2 separate regions of the Homo sapiens genome follow, and region 1 is linked to region 2. The links are contacts of gene promoters, found by promoter capture Hi-C in human tissues and cell types (Jung and others, 2019). All regions are on one chromosome and are shown on one strand. The core of a region is centred on a gene start or on the middle of the fragment in contact, and the rest is flanking DNA. Distances in the headings are between cores, read along the strand shown.

Evidence for each region. The method cuts DNA at HindIII sites, captures the fragments that hold promoters and counts their contacts. A contact is called where the count stands out against the background at its distance.
Region 1: a contact is called between the fragment with the promoter of RPS15 here and a fragment that was not itself captured in region 2, in 1 of the 25 tissues and cell types used here (dorsolateral prefrontal cortex).

What each region holds. Positions count from the first base shown.
Region 1 is chr19:1,434,545-1,439,645 of GRCh38, forward strand. RPS15 (ribosomal protein S15) reads left to right here and starts at 3,852. Exons shown (of 4, transcript NM_001018.5): 1 at 3,852-3,884; 2 at 4,263-4,348. The coding sequence starts at 3,882. It overlaps DAZAP1 (DAZ associated protein 1), which reads left to right. Exons shown (of 12, transcript NM_018959.4): 12 at 193-1,140. The coding sequence ends at 368. RefSeq lists enhancers at 1-220, 3,597-4,467, 3,876-4,095. The HindIII fragment of the contact is 20,902 bases long and covers 1-5,101 here.
Region 2 is chr19:1,639,274-1,644,889 of GRCh38, forward strand. All of the region lies in intron 3 of TCF3 (transcription factor 3), which reads right to left. Among named protein-coding and RNA genes, the nearest start is that of TCF3, 11 kb to the right of the region's middle. The HindIII fragment of the contact is 9,192 bases long and covers 1-5,616 here.

The sequences.
Region 1 (5,101 bases), core at 2,602-5,101, 200 kb before region 2:
GTTTTTGAGGGAGAGAACATGCCCGGGGTCCTCTCCCCGGCCCAGGTGCTGGCCTCAGAAGGGCCCCACCCGCACCCCGTGGGACCCGTGGACTCAAGGCAGGCTCGGCGGAGCTGTGTCCAGGTGGCCTCGCTCGACGGCAGTGCCAACCGCCCAGGGACCGCCCCGAGCTCACAGGACTTTCTCCCCCAGCAGGTTACGGGCAGGACTTGAGTGGCTTCGGACAGGGCTTCTCAGACCCCAGCCAGCAGCCTCCTTCCTACGGGGGTCCCTCCGTGCCAGGGTCGGGGGGCCCCCCCGCCGGCGGCAGCGGCTTTGGACGAGGGCAGAACCACAACGTGCAAGGGTTCCACCCCTACCGACGCTAGCCCGCGGCGCCGCGACGTCTGCACGGCCCAGACCCAGGATTCCAAACTTGTGAACTCGTGACAATCACAAACTTGGCGGCAAAGTGGCGACTCAACCTTGGGGGGGGGGGCGGGGGGAGGGCGCGAGGCTTTTGGAGCGGCTGTGGGTGTCGTCTGGACTGAGGTTTTTAAATATTTCTTTCTCTAACCCATCAGCACAATAAAAAAAAGTCACTGGTTCAACAACAGGGTTTAAAAAAAATGTCTTCAGCTTTAATTCAAAACTTCAGGTTTCTTTTTCTTCCTTTTTTTTGGAAATTATTTTCCTGAGCCTTTTGTTTTACGGTATATTGTAAACTTTTATGTTAAAGAAAAAATATACATTTACAAATTGTGAGATTTTTAAGAGAAATTTTCTACGATGTATACTGGCTTATTTTTTAATTTAAAACGGGGTTTCCGTCGGCACTGGTGGAGGGGGTGCGCTGTTAGTCCCCTCGCTCCTGGCTTTGGGGGTTGGGACTTGGTGGTCCAGAAACTCTGGGAGCTTCTAGAAGAAATCTACTGAGTGTATTTCTGTTTTTTGTTTAATTCCTTGCTTTTGTCGACTGACCTGCTTGGTAGTGTCTGAGGTGAACTGTGGGGGTTGCGCACAGCCAGCCGCGTGGATCCCACGCAGCGCTGAACCGAACCGAGTAGGAAGCCTTTCTCCCCAGGCACGTGGCTTCAGGGCGTTTCCCATTGACCAGTTTGACCCTGGTTTGAATAAAGAGAAGTGCGTTTGGATTAGAAACCACTTTGTGTCCGTTTTTTCCCTCCTTGGTCTTGGCCTGTGCCTACCCTTCCAGTGCCTAGGAAAGGTCTGAAACGCGACGGAGGCGCCCTCGCCCTCCCCTTGGCTCTTGGTGGTCTCAGCAACCCCGAGGGCTTCAGGGCAGAGGCTGAGTGGCGAGCTGGGCCCATCCCTCAGTGGGTCTTGGGATGCTGTGACTTTGAGGATGTGGCCACCACCAGTTTTCTCGGGGAATGTGGGCTCCAGGCTTTTCCCATCTCAAGACCTTTAATCATATCTTTTGCCATGGAAGGTGACATATCCCCAGGTTCTGGGGATTAGGACAGGGGCATCTTTGGAAAGGGATACTCTGTCACTGTGGCAGGGAAGGCGAGACTTAAAAAGGGCCGGGCGCGGTGGCTCACGACTGTAATCCCAGCACTTTGGGAGGCCGAGGCGGGCGGATCACCTGAGGTCGGGAGTTCGAGACCAGCCTGACCAACATGGAGAAACCCCGTCTCTACTAAAAATACAAAAATTAACCGGGTGTGGTGGTGCATGCCTGTAATCCCAGCTACTTGGGAGGCTGAGGCAGAAGAATCGCTTGAACCTGGGAGGCGGAGCTTGCAGTGAGCCGAGATTGCGCCATTGCACTCCAGCCTGGGCAACAAGAGCGAAACTCCGTCTCAAAAAACAAAACAAGAAAAAAAAAGGACCATGAAGTCCCAAACTGGAAGCCTACAGCGTGCCAGGCGTGAGACTGTTCAGGCGACAGCCAGAACCACCCCCCCCCGCCCCAGTTCATATTTTGGGGACAGGGAAGGTTTGACTTAGTTTGGAGAGAACCAAGAGAAGGGGTACCCCCAACATCCCTGTGCAGTGCAGTTTCCTCACTGAGACAGTACCCCTCAACGCCTCAGCCCAGGAAGCCAGCTCCATTCCCTGCCGTCAGAGCCTTCTCCCATGTCCTCAGGAGCTGCTGCCCCAGCTCCCAGGAGGGCCAGGCGGGGGCGGCTGTCTATCCACACCACAGGTCATCATGGTGTTGAGTGTCAGCCCCTCCCGTTACATTAGCTCCCCCAGCCAAAGAGCAGCACTCACAAAATCAGCTTTCCAGCCAGGACACTCTGCTGCAGGAAAATGGGTAACATGGACGGGCCCGACACATAGGTCCTGTGCTCCTCGGGACGGAGACTCAGCCCTCCCTGAGTACAGTGTAATTGGCTTCCCTTGGGACTGTGGGGACGGCTGGGGAGAGCTCAGCTCCCTGGACAGTGCCACAGCTAAGCTCGGGTTCCCAGAGGTTTTGTGCTTTTTTTTTTTCTTTTTCTTTTTTTTTTTTTTTTTTTTTTTTGAGAAGGAGTCTCTGTCGCCCAGGCTGGAGTGCAGTGGTGCGATCTCAGCTCACTGCAACCTCCGCCTCCCGGGTTCAAGCGGTTCTCCTGCCTCAGCCTCCCAAGGAGCTGGGATTACAGGCACCCACCACCACGCCTGGCTAATTTTTTGTATTTTTAGTAGAGTTAGGGTTGGTCAGCTTGGTCTTGAACTCTTGACCTCAGGTGATCCGCCCGCCTCGGCCTCCCAAAGTGCTGGAATTACAAGCATAAGCCACCACGCCCAGCCAGGTGCCACATCCATAGTTAATAGTCACCTTCAACTTTATACTTAATTCCAGTAAGATACAGAAACATCACTCCTAGGCCAGGCGCGGTGGCTCACGCCTGTAATCCCAGCACTTTGGGAGGCCAAAGCGGGTGGATCACCTGAGGTCAGGAGTTCGAGACCAACATGGCCTGGCCAACATGGAGAAACCGTGTCTTTACTAAAAATACAAAATTAGCCGGGCACGGTAACAGGTGCCTGTAATCCCAGCTACTTGGGAGGCTGAGGCAGGAGAATCGCTTGAACCCAGGAGGCAGAGGTTGCAGTGAGCCGAGATCACACCACTGCACTCCAGCCAGGGCAACAAGAGTGAAACTCTGTCTCAAAAAAAAAAAAAAGTCACTCCTACATAGTTCTAGTTACTCCTTCTCTTTGAGCTATCATTATTCACATTACATTTACATATCTTAACAAACCCAGTGATATTCCTAACTTTATTTTTGAGGCAGGGTCTTGCTCTGTCGCCCAGGCTGGAGTGCCGTTGGCGCGATCACGGCTCACTGCAGCCTTGACCTCCTGGGCTGAAGGCTCAGCCTCCCGAGTAGCTGGGAATTTTTTGTACTTTTTATTCTTTTATGTCCGTGTGTACACAAATTTTTGTATTTTTTTGTAGAGAGGCAGTCTCACTGTGTTGTCCTTACTAACTTTATATACAAAATTTTATCTGTTAAAGCCGGAATGGTTCTTTTCAGCGAGGCCCTGTCCCTGCTCCAGTATCTGTAATGAATTCTCGTGTTCCTCCCACAGTGGGACCTGAACCGCCAAACCGCACCTACGAGCAAACGGTAGGCGCTCCATAAATACTTGTTGATGTGGGTGCCATCGTGTAGATGACGGAGCACGAACCCGAGGCTCAGACAGGGGCGGCGACTTGTCCAAAGTCCCACTCCGTGGAGGAAGCGGCTCTGCAGACCTCAGGCGGCGGCTGCTCTAATCCCTGCAGCCTGTGTTTTGCCCTCCAGACGGCAGAGGGCGCGTGTTCGCCGCCGGGAAAGCGGAAGCGCGTGTGCGCGCACGGCCGAGGGGGCGGGACATGCCGGCAGTCTCGCGATAACTGCGCAGGCGCGGACCAAAGCGATCTCTTCTGAGGATCCGGCAAGATGGTGAGTGTTGCGATTTGGCGCGTCTCTGCCGGGCCTATCCGGCTCCATCCAACCTCTGACCGTCTCGCGGGGGCCGCAGTTCGTCCCCGCGGCTACGGCGGCTTGCTCCCGACCCTGCAGGCGGCTGGATGTTGGGGCGAGGGGCGGACTTGGTGGGTGTCGGGACGACGCGGGGCTGGGAAGGCCTGTCCGGGCCTTCATGTCCGGGTCCTCGTAACCCGGAGCCGCGAGTGATCCCCGGGGACGGGTCGAAGCGGTGTGTCCCTGTCGGGCTTCTGTCCCCGGCGGCGCCGCGCGTCTTCCGCGGTGTCCTCGGGCCCGGTGGCCCCGGGAGATGGGTGTCGGGATCCCGCTGACGCCCGATCCGCGCCCGCACAGGCAGAAGTAGAGCAGAAGAAGAAGCGGACCTTCCGCAAGTTCACCTACCGCGGCGTGGACCTCGACCAGCTGCTGGACATGTCCTAGTAAGGGCGGCCGCGGGGGTCGCGGGCAGGGGCTGGGCCAGCGGTGGGGCTTGTCCGGGTGAGGGCGGCGGGGCGGGGGTCCAAGCGCCTCTGCGGCGGTGGGCGGGCACGGTCTCCGCGCGGGTTTGGAACTGAGTGTGGTCTTGCGCCCAGAAAACTGTCCAGAGACGTTGAGGTTTTTGCTTATTTGCAACCTGCCCCCCGTTGTTCACTTTTCCGCGGCTTAGTTGGAAGGTGTAGCCCCTGTCTGTAGCCCACGTGACTTAGAATAAGGGGCTGCGTTAGACTCCTTAGATTTTAAGGGCGGTGGAGGTCGCTGGGTCCTTTCCAGGCAGGGTGGTGGTGGGCATCTGGCTTGCGCTTTTATTTTTTAATTTTTGATTATTTTGAGGCGGAGTCTCATCCTGTCGCCCAGGCTGGAGTGCAATGGCTCCGTCCCAGCTCACTGCAGCCTCCCACTCCCGGGTTCAAGCGATTCTCTTGCCTCAGCCTCTCGAGTAGCTGGGATTAGAGGGCCCCCCCACCACGTCCGGCTAATTTTTGTATTTTTAGTAGAGACGAGTTTCAGTGTTGCCCAGGCTGGTCTCAAACTCCTGACCTCAGGTGATCCACCTGCCTCGGCCTCCCAAAGTGCTGGGATTACAGGCGTGAACACCGCGCCCGACCTTGATTTTTGATTATTTGTGGAAACAGCGTTTCTCTGTGTCGTCCAGGTTGGTCTTGAACTCCTGGGCTCAAGCGACCCTCCCGCCT
Region 2 (5,616 bases), core at 556-3,055:
CCTCAGAAGATCCACCTGCCTTGGCCTCCCAAAGTGCTGGGATTACAGGCATGAGCCACCACCACCAGCCAAGGAACGGATTTTTTTGTTGTTGACAATGGCTCGACCCACAACGAAATCCCACTGTCTCAGCCCACACAAGCCCACAATCCTGGCATCTAAATACGTCAACAGAGAAACCGACAAACAGAACAGAGGGGGATGGCGCTGCTCTCAGCCTGACATTAAACAGATTAAAAATCTAAATATGGTTCAAAGGCCTCGCAGCTCCACATCCAACTATCCCTCAAGTACTCACAAAGAAGGACAAAAATAATCCATGTTTCAGCCTCGGCAGAGGAGCTCTGCGTCCTCCAAACAGTAGCTACCGTTTAAGCCAAAGCTGAGTTTTGGCACTGGAGATCTAGAAATCAAGAAAGGACCTCCAACTTGGAACTCAGAAACCTCTGAAGCAACCTGACCTGAAGAGGAAATTAGGAAAAAAAAAAAAAAAAAAAAAAAGGAACAAATGTCAGTAATATGAGAAAAACATGCATTATGGAAACCAATGGGATGGGGTTCACGGGGTGGAACCCTCAACACCACACTGATGGAACAGAAGAGGGCAGAAGTCAGCAAAAGGGGCCTGTGATCTGAAAGTCACCAAAAACTTTAGAAAGAGAAGAAATGCCGATAAAGAGGAAAATTGATCAATTGATCAATATCGATTTGCCAATGAAGCAGATTCTCCAGAAGAAAAATCAACGAGAGAGAGAAAATGCACAGGGCAGCCGAGTCAAGAACAAAGAAACCACCTAAAAGTTGGCGCATTGAGGACCGCGGCGCCCTCAGCCTCCCTGCGCAGGTGGAAAGACAGGCGCCTCCAAACGTTATCAAAGAGCCGAACGGGGCCAGGCGCAGAGGGTCAGGCCTGGAATCCCAGCACTTTTGGCACGGGTGGACAGACAGGCGCCTACAAACATTATCAAACAGCCAAATGAGGCCGGGCTCGGTGGCTCATGCCTGTAATCCCAGCACTTTGGGAGGCCGAGGCGGGAGGATCACCAGGTCAGGAGACCGAGACTGTCCTGGCTAACACGGTGAAACCCTGCCTCTACTAAAAATACAAAAAATTAGCGCAATGGTTACTAAACTCTCTAAGTTTCAGCTTCTTTACCAGTAAAATACGGTAATAATTACACCTATTTCGCTAACCTGTTAGAACTGAGAATTCCCAGTGAATAAGCCAAGCTTTGTGTCCAATGCACAGTGCTCAAGAAACACTGATGTAAGCAGTGGCTCACACCTGTAATCCCAGCACTTCGGGAGGCCGAGGCGGGCGGATCACAAGGTCAGGAGATGGAGACCATCCTGGCTAACAAGGTGAAACCCCGTCTCTACTAAAAATACAAAAACTTAGCCGGCACCTGTAGTCCCAGCTACTAGGGAGGCTAGGCAGGAGAATGGCGTGAACCTGGGAGGCGGAGCTTGCAGTGAGCTGAGATCACGCCACTGCACCCCAGCCTGGGTGACAGAGCATGACTCCGTCTCAAAAAAAAAAAAAAAGTGATGTAAATTGTTGTATTACTGATGTTGTTAAAAAGTTAATGAGGCGGCCAGGCGCGGTGGTTCACGCCTGTAATCCCAGCACTTTGGGAGGCCGAGGTGGGTGGATCACTGGAGGTCAGGAGTTTGAGACCAGCCTGGCCAACGTGGCGAAACCATGTCTCTACTAAAACTACAAAAAATTAGCCAGGCATGGTGGCAGGCACCTATATTCCCAGCTACTCAGGAGGCTGAAGCAGGAGAATCGTTTGAACTCAGGAGGCGGAGGCGGAGGCGGAGGTTGCAGTGAGCTGAGATCGTGCCACTGCACTCCAGCCTGGGCAACAAGAGCAAAACTCGGTCTCAAAAAAAAAAAAAAAGTTAATGAGGCAGCAATAAAAAGAAAAAAAAAAGATACAGCCAACAGCTTGGCTGGATCTCCAGGGAATTATGCTAACGTAACAGAATAAAAGCTAATCTCAGAAGGTTGCAAACTATAGGATTCCATTTACACAAAATACTCAAAGTGAAAAATTGGGCTGGGCACAGTGGCTCACACATGTAATCACAGCACTCTGGGAGGCTGAGGTAAGAGGATCACTTGAGCTCATGAATACAAGATCAGCCTGGAGAACACAGCAAGACCCCATCTAGACAATATTTTTTTATTCTTCAGACACGGTCTCCCTCTGTCCCCGAGGCCAGAGTGCAGTGGCGCAATCTCAGCTAACTGCAACCTCCGCCTCCCAGGTTCAAGTGCTTTTCGTGTCTCAGCCTCCCGAGTAGCTGGGATGACAGGCACGCACCACCACGCCCAGCTAATTTTTGTATTTTTAGCAGAGACGGGGTTTCGCCACGTTGACTAGGCTGGTCTTGAACTCCTGGCCTCATGTGATCCACACACCCTGGCTTCCCAAAATGCTGGGATTATAGGTGTGAGCCACCGCACCCAGCTGAAATTTTTCTTTTTTTTTAAACAGAGACAGGGTTTCTCCATGTTGCCCAGGCTGGTCTTGAACTCCTGGGCTCCGGCAATTCTCCCATCTCAACCTCCCAAAGTGCTGGGGATTACCAGTGTGAGCCGCTGACCCAGCCCTCTACAAAATACATATTTTTTTAATTAGGTGGTCGCAGCTGCTCACAAGGCTGAGGTGGGAGGATCAGTTGAGCCCAGAACTTCAAGGCTACAGTCAGTTATGATCACACCACTGCACTCCAGTCTGGACAACAGAGTGAGACCTGGTCCCTAAAAAAAAAAAATCGTACAGATGAAGAACAGATTGGTGATTCCTGGGCTTAAAGAAGGTGCATGTCTCAAAACTGCACAGAACTACACACACACACACACACACACACACACACACACACGCACGCGTACACACACGCACGCAGACACAGACGCAGACACGCACACACGCGCAGACGCACAGACACGCACGCGCAGACGCACACACACGTGCGCACACACGCACGCACACGCACAGACGCGCACACGCACAGACACACACCCGCACGCACACACAGACACACACACGTGCGTGTAAAGCCGGTGGAATCTGATCAGGATCTGTGGACGGCACCAATGTCGGCTTCCTAGGTCTGACGCAGCACCACGGGTGGGCGGGACGGTACCCCTGGGGGTGGCTAGGTGAGAGGAGAACACTCTGCCACTTCCTGTGAATCCCGAAAGACTTCAGAATAAAAAGTGGATCAACTTCAAGGACGAGGGCCCAAGAGAGTAACAGAAAATTCACCAGAGAGCCATTCACAGGGTCAATCCCCTTCCGAGAAGACCACCGCCCTCTATTAAACAAGTGGCAGGTGAAAGGACACGATCTTTGTCACCTATTAAATGAGACAGGCCGTGCTGTCACCACGTTGGCCAGGCTGGTCTCGAACACCTAGTCCCAGGTACTCCTCTTGCCTTGGCCTCCCAAGTGCTGGGATTACAGGCCTGAGCCACCGCGCCCGGTCACAAGGGACGCTTTCAATGTGAAAAAGCATCCAGGGACCCAGCAATTCCACTCCCAGACACGCACCCGGAGGAAATGACCCATGCGCCAGGTTCTCCCGGGGTTTCCTCTTAAAGCAGAACGCGGAGGTGCCGTTCTGTGGATTTTCACTCTGACCGTGTGTCACACTTACAATCGCACGGACAGAGAAAGCGACGGGGAAATGAAAAATAGGAAAGAACTTTCCTTTGGTCCGTCAATAAGCAATTTCCTGGTGTCTCCCGTGGCCTCAGAGCCTGTCTGTCTTGGCAGAAGATAGGCTGTCACTCAGAGACCTGTGCCTGAGGGTTTCCAAAAATGGGAGGCGGTGGGTGGGAGAAGGCGTACGAAAATTATTCCCGTTTTAAATGTCTTCCGATCCAGACAACCAGAAAATCTTGGTTTCCTATTCGTTAATCTCTAATGCCTTTTTTGTTTCGTTTCTGTTTTGAGACAGGGTCTGGCTCTGTCACCCAGGCTGCAGGGCAGTGGCGCAATCTCAGCTCACTGCAACCTCCGCCTCCCAGGCTCCAGCAATCCTCCTGCCTCAGCCTCCCGAGTAGCTGGGACCCCAAGTGTGCGCCACCACGCCCAGCTAATTTTTGTATTTTTAGTAGAGATGAGGTTTTGCTGTGTTACCCAGGCTGGTCTCTAACTCCTGCGCTCAAGCGATCCTTCCGCCTTGGTCCCCCAAAGTGCTGGGATTATAGGCATGAACCACTGTGTCTGGCCCTTTTCTGTTTGTTTGAGTTGGGGTCTCTCAGTCACCCAGGCTGGAGCGCAGTGGCTCAAACATAGCTCACTGCAGCCTTGACCTCCTGGCCTCAAGCGATCCTCCTGCCTTGGCCTCCCAAAGTGCTGGGATTAAAGGTGTGAGCCACCTTGCCCAGTACCTAACTCCTCTCTCGACACCAATTTTTAAATATTTATAAATATCGAAGAACAGGCAGACCCTTCACAGGGGAAAACTTATGTTTAATTAATTTTCAGGGACACCTTTTATTCTCACCTGGGTTTCTGGTTCTCAAATCTAAAGTTTCCTTTCAAATGAACTTAAGAAAAGCGAGGTGACTTAAAAGGGAGCTAGAACAGGGCACATGAAGAAGGGGCCAAGGTGGAGAATGCGGCTGGGGTACCCCATCAGCCATCAGCGTTGGGGACTCCTGGCGAAGGGTGGCGTCCCCGAAGCCAACTAGGCCCCGCCTGGAAGGAAGCTGCACCCACTGTTCCAGGAAGAAGCCGAGGTTTGGGAAGGGATCCCACAGCTCCGGGGCTCCATCCTGCTGATGAGCCCCAAACTCCCCTCTTCCTGGGTCCTCGGAGAGGAGAAGCAGGAAGCGGGGAAATGAGCTACTGCAGCTCCTGGGCCCTGCCGGGATCCCTCCGCCCCTCGCACCCATCGACTCGCTGAACCTGACGATGGAAGAGAGCAGGTGCCCATCTTGCGGGAGCTTCGGGAGGGCCACACCTGGGGCCAGCGCCACAGCCTGCAGGGGCCTGGGGGAGTGGAGGCAATGAGGAGGGTGCCACCAACTCAGGCCTTGGAGCTCTGCATCCTCCACCACCCCCGGGCTCAGGCGGGCGTTAACTGCATGGACTGAACGGGGAGGGGGTCACCCCTCTGTGTCCAGGAGCTGGGGGGTCCCAGGCTGGAGCAGCCACATCACGTCCCTCAAGGGCAAAAAATGCAACATACTGGGCCTCACTGGGCCCTCCAAAGCCTCCGCCCTAACGTGTGAGGGGACAAGGCGAGACCCTCCCAACCTGCAGCATTGGGGCAGGGCCGGAGCACAGGGCGAGACTCTGTGGGAACCACAGAAAATACATCTGCAAACATTGGCAGGTTCCTGCTGGGACCGGGCTGGGCGTCCAGGGAGAGGCAACCCAGAGGGAGCATTCTCAGGTCCACACGGCCTACACACCACAGCTCTGGTTACCCAGGGACCAATCTCACAGTGGTCCGTGCCAGGGCTGAGGGGGTGAGAGGCGACAGGGGACGAGGGAAGACACCTCCCACCCCACCCTCCCCACCAGGCCCTGCTGTAAGCCCACCCAGAGGCCCAGGAGAATGGGGGTGGACGGCCTTGGGAGTTGCGCTTCC